Regions from separate parts of the Homo sapiens genome. Here region 2 is linked to region 1. Evidence: promoter capture Hi-C in human tissues and cell types (Jung and others, 2019). All regions are on one chromosome and are shown on one strand. The core of a region is centred on a gene start or on the middle of the fragment in contact, and the rest is flanking DNA. Distances in the headings are between cores, read along the strand shown. Region 1 holds the start of SYTL1 (synaptotagmin like 1). Region 2 holds the start of SLC9A1 (solute carrier family 9 member A1).

The links. The method cuts DNA at HindIII sites, captures the fragments that hold promoters and counts their contacts. A contact is called where the count stands out against the background at its distance.
Region 2: the fragment with the promoter of SLC9A1 here is called in contact with the fragment with the promoter of SYTL1 in region 1 in 1 of the 25 tissues and cell types used here (pancreas).

Annotation. Positions count from the first base shown.
Region 1 is chr1:27,340,572-27,343,271 of GRCh38, forward strand. SYTL1 (synaptotagmin like 1) reads left to right here and starts at 1,451. Exons shown (of 15, transcript NM_001193308.2): 1 at 1,451-1,579. RefSeq lists enhancers at 1,072-1,331, 1,862-1,911, 2,086-2,700. The HindIII fragment of the contact is 14,194 bases long and covers 1-2,700 here.
Region 2 is chr1:27,153,578-27,156,408 of GRCh38, forward strand. SLC9A1 (solute carrier family 9 member A1) reads right to left here and starts at 1,548. Exons shown (of 12, transcript NM_003047.5): 1 at 406-1,548. The coding sequence starts at 757. RefSeq lists a silencer at 1,268-1,497 and an enhancer at 2,443-2,831. The HindIII fragment of the contact is 28,159 bases long and covers 1-2,831 here.

The sequences.
Region 1 (2,700 bases), core at 201-2,700:
GCAGTGGTGCGATCTCGGCTCACTGCAAGCTCCACCTCCCAGGTTCATGCCATTCTCCTGCCTCAGCTACTCGGGAAATAGCTGGGACTACAGGCAGCCGCCACCACGCCCAGCTAATTTTTTTTGTATTTTTAGTAGAGATGGGTTTTCACCGTGTTAGCCAGGATGGTCTTGATCTCCTGACCTCGTGATCCACCCGTCTCGGCCTCCCAAAGTGCTGGGATTACAGGTGTAAGCTACCACGCCCAGCCTTGTTTGCTTTTCTGAGACGGAGTCTCGCTGTGTTGCCCAGGCTGGAGTGCAGTGGTGCGATCTCGGCTCACTGCAACCTCCGCCTCCTGGGTTCAAGCGATTCTCCTGCCTCGGCCTCCCGAGTAACTGGGACTGCAAGCACCTGCCACCATGCCCGGTTAATTTTTGTATTTTGAGTAGAGACGGGGTTTCACTATATTAGCCAGACTGGTCTCAAACTCCTGTCCTAGAGTGATCCGCCCACCTCGACCTCTTAAAGTACTGGGATTACAGGCATGAGTCACTGTGCCCAGACTGGTTTTGTTTAGAATCCACCCCTTGTCCTGCCTCTCCCAGGGGTCTATGAGGAGCCCACTAATCTTTAATCCATGGCCCTAGGTTCAGGGGAGGGGGTTGGGCCAGGGCAGGCCATGGGAAGTGAAGTGGACTTGGGGGGAGTCAGAAAGCTTTGGTGTGGCCTCTTGTGCCCAAGACAACCCAGGAGGTTCATGGTCCTGAAGCCAATGTAATCTAGGGCCCAAACCTTCTAATCTCAGGGTGGGCAGAATCTAGGTGTAGAATGGGGTGAGTTCAGGGGGGCTCCACATAGACAGAGGGTGTGGGACCCTCACCTTGGCACTAGAAGAGTTCAGGCCTCCTCAAACAGATGGGGCTCAGGACAGCAGAGGGGACAGAGAGGGCTGCTCTGCCAGCATGTCCCAGAAGTGCATGTGGATATAGAGGGCAGCAGCTGCTGAGATGGCCGTGGGCATTAGGCTATGCTGGAGTGGGGACACCTCACCCCGACTATGCCAGCTCGCACCGGGCACTTTCACTTCCCTTAGTATAGGCTCCTTGCACTCTGCTACCCACAGTTTGCATCAGAAGAAATGGAAGAGACCTGCTTAAGGTCACATCACACACCCACTGGCAGAGCAGGGACTCTGCACAGGGTGGTCTAACTGCAAAGTCTGCCATCCTGCCATTCCCCTTGGGGCTGGAAAAGAAAGGTTTCTAACTTGCTTTCAAAGCGAGTTCCTATCAGCCCCGTTGTGGGCAAGGTGGGGCTGCTACCCGTTCTAGAGGGCCTGCTCAGTGGAGCTGGGGCCAAGCTGGGCCTCTCCAGTCGGCTGCGGGGGCGCACCCCCGGGCGCTGGGAGTCCAGGCCCGGTTTTGCATCAGGCCCTGCCGAGGTGTTTCCTCCTCCTCCGTGTGGGGCAGCTGCTGGCTGGGCTGCCTGTTGAGTCAGCCTTCTTCCCTCACGGCTCTTCTCCCGGTCCCTGAAACTCGGCTGCCAGGGGAGCTGGAGCCACCTGCGAAGGTGTCCTCCCATACTGGACCCCTACAGGTAACACGTGTCGGTGCCAGGGTCCCCTGCCAGGGTCCAGAGACGCAGGCACTGCCACCTGGTATCCTGAGCACCCTCCAGCACCTTGGGGTTGGGGGAGGTGGGCACATGTCTGGAACTGGAACAGCTGGACAGATGGACAGACCCTCCTCTTGACCAATGGGTCTGTCCCACCGTGTCAAAACAGCAGAGAAGACCAAACTCCTACCTAACTCTGGTAGGAGATTCTGCCTCTGGTTGGTAGGAGAGGGGACTTCAGGGAGGGGGCACTGCTGAGGACGCTGGGCTGATGCCCATGGCCCAGCTCAGGCAGGCCTGAAGGACAGAAATAGGCTCAGTTCTGCCGAACGTCCCCCCGGCCTCCATCCACACTCAGACACACACACCTGGTGGCCCCCAAGGCACCAGGGGACACCCCACAGCACACAGCCCAGTCACACATACAGCACAGGAGGAAATGCACAATGCATACTGTACACACCCCACACGGCGCTGTCACCTAGAAAGTCACTGAACACACCACACAGACAATATAGTCACCATGCAGCATCACACTGCAACAGGACACAAAGACACACAGCAACTACACAGCTCACAGACTCACGCAACGCAGACATGCCCACCAGACTCGGACCCACACAGCCACACAACAGGGCACAGAGAGGGACGTGGGCTCACACCCCAATCCACAGGGGAGGCCGAACGTGGGCTCACACCCCAATCCACAGGGGAGGCCGAACGTGGGCTCACACGTTGGCCACAGAAGTCCAGGGAAACTGCTGTTGTGGAGCACACAGGTATCCACAGAGTGAATGCACACCGTGCAGCCGTGCTGAGGCCTTCTGCTCCTGAGGGTGTCAAGAGGGATCGCTGGGGCTCGGCCACTGACTCAGCTGGGAGGGGACAGAGCATAGCAGGCGGCGGACACAAGCCAGGACCTGCCCGCCAAGCTGCCTCCGCCGGTCTCAGCCCCACCTGGAGCCGTGGCAATGGAAGGGGCGGGGAAGAGAGGAGAGGCCGCCCAGTGGGCTCAGGACACAGCCCTGACCAAGTCATGGGCCCCTTGCCACGTCTACATGCCCCTCAGCGCTGGGCAAATGCTTTCTTTCCGGAGTCACTGT
Region 2 (2,831 bases), core at 298-2,797, 190 kb before region 1:
TGCACTGGTTGCTGTTGACAGAGCAGAATGTGCCACTCGCCAGAAGACACTCCTTTCTGTCTCACACACAGCGGGGTGCCTGGCTCCCCTGGGGGTCTGGCCCAGCCAGAGGAGACTTGCCAGTCGTGGAAGCCTTACTGAAGGGACCTAGGATCAGAGGCATCCCATTCTCTAATCCTGCTCTCTTCTGTGCACAGTGCTGGCTCCAATCTTGGGAAGCCTCAGATCACAGATCAGAAGCCACAGAACTGGAGCCTGAGAAGGACCAAGGTGGCAGGATGGAGACTGCCTACTTTATGGGGGTAGTTCAGATCCTTACTCCTGGACAGCCTCAAATGGTGCGAGATGAGGCAAGAAGCTCACCAGTCTGGTGGCGGCCGCAGCATCGGAGCAAACGGGACTTACCTATCTTCATGAGGCAGGCCAGAAGGATCCAGAGGGAGATCTCGAAGGGGGTGCGCACGTGTGTGTAGTCGATGCCCAGGACTGGAAAGGCCTTGCGCGGCTTCATGCCATGATCAGTGACGGAATGATTAACAGGGCGGCTCTCTGGGGTGACCTCCGGTGGAGCGGTGGTGACATCCCCAATCGAGCGTTCTCGTGGTGGCTCTGAGCTTCGAATGGTGCTGGCAGTTGGGCTGAGCTGGAGGCCATGGCTCCTGAGAACAGGCAGCAGCCCCACCAAAGCAACCACCACGAGTAAGGAAGGGAAGATCCGATGTGGAGAGAGGCCACAGATGCCAGACCGCAGAACCATGGTGCTGCTTCCAGAGCCAGCCTCGACCTTACCCAAATGAGAGTAAAACCGGGCACATAGGTAGCAAAGGGTCAGCAAGTGGGAAGAGAGACTGGCGTAGTCTCTAGGAAAAGTTCATGTTTTAGAGAGGCATTTCCATGGAAGCAATTTTCTGGGGGTGGAGGGAGGCTGGGTTTGCAATCTGGAACTCCAAAGTGGGGAAAGGGGGCAAGGACCCAGGAACGACCACGAAAGGAGACCAAAAGGTCTGGAACTCCGGGCCTGGGAAGGGGGAGGACGGATGTGGGAAACTGAGCCCTAGGGATAGAGGAAGGGGCAGGATAGGGATAGTGCAAAGGAAAGGAAGAAGGAAGGCTGGGACCTTTGGCTGAGGAAAGTGACTGAGGAGCTGGGACTCTGGGCTGTGGGCTAAAGGAAGGGGTAGGGAGCCTGAGCTAAAGGAAGGGGACCGAAGGGGGTGAGAGCCAGTCCAGGAAAAGGAGAGAGGGGGCTGGGAGCCCAGGCTGAGAAGGAGTGAAACCGGGAAGCGGCCGGGAGCTTCTCCACCCAGAGAGGGGCAGGGGTCCAGGCGCGCCGGGCTGAGATTCCGGGGAAATGGAAAGAGGCGGAAGGCAGGCGGCCTGGCGGGAAGGCGCCTCGGCGCGGGCTGGGGGCGGCTCGCGGTGGGCCAGCAGCAACACGCCCCTCCTCGCGGCCCTGGCGCGACGCGGCGCTCCGCCCCGGCCCAGCTGCAGCTCCTCCTGGTCCAGCTCCAGAACTAACCCTAGCCCCGGCCCCGGCGGCAGCAGACTGAAGCCTAGCTGAGCCCGGCGCTGTCACTTATAGGCACCAGCGAGCAGCCGGTGCGGCGGGCTAGAGAGACCGTCGGCACCCGCCCAGCGCAGCGGCCCCTGTCGCCGAGGGAAAGAAGTATCGCGTAGGAAGAGGAAGGAGAGTCAGAGATGACAAAAAAAAAAAAAAAAAAAAGTCCTGAATATACAGAGAACCTCACTAACGCGAGTAAAATGCCGACTACTTACAAAACGATTTCACGTCCACATCTGCAGTCTCATAAGGGCTTTCGAATAATCCTGTGAAGAATGTATTATTAGTTTATGTATTTAGTTACCGTGTGACCTTGAGCAAGTTACTTAACCTGTTTCACAACTTTCTCATCTGTTAAGTAGAGACAGTAATAGTGACTATGTCAGAGGGATGATGTAATGACTGAGACAATCCGTGTAAACTATTTGGAATGCACCCTGGCACATTATTACAATTCCACTTTTACAGATGAGGAAACAGGTGAAGAGAGTCCCCTGGCTACTATGCAAGTAGTTGTATTGCTTACTAGGGCTGCCGTAACAAAGTATCACCCCAAACTGGGTGGCTGCAACAACAGAAATTGATTGTCTCACAGTTCTGGAGGCTGGAGGTCGGATCTAGGTGTTGGCAGGGTTGGTTTCAGCTGAGAGCTATGAGGGAGAATCTGTCCCATGCCTTTCTCCTACCTTCCAGTGGTTTGTTAGGACTATCTGGTATTCCATGGAGTTCTCCTGGTGTCTCTGTCTCTGCGTCCAGATTCCCCGCCCACACTTTATTTTTATTTTTATTTTTTTTGAGATAGAGTCTGGCTCTTGTTGCCCAGGCTGGAGTGCGGTGGCGCCATCTCAGCTCAATGCAACCTCTGCCTCCTGGATTCAAGCGATTCTCCTGCCTCAGCCTCCAGAGTAGCTGGGATTACTGGCACCCACCACCACGTCCAGCTAATTTTTGTATTTTTAGTAGAGATGGGGTTTCACCATGTTGGTCAGGCTGGTCTCGAACTCCTGACCTCAGGTGATCCACCCGCCTCGGCCTCCCAAAGTGCTGGGATTACAGGGGTAAGCCACAACCCCCAGCCAGATTTCCCCTTTTTATAAGGACACCAGTCATTGGATTAGAAATCCAACGTAATTACCTCATCTTAACCTGAACATCTTCAAAGACTGCATCCTAATTAGTCCATCTTCATAGGCACTGGGCATTAGGACTTCAACTTCTTTTGCCGGGACACAATTCAACCCACAACAGTGGCATGCTTTAAGTAGTGGAA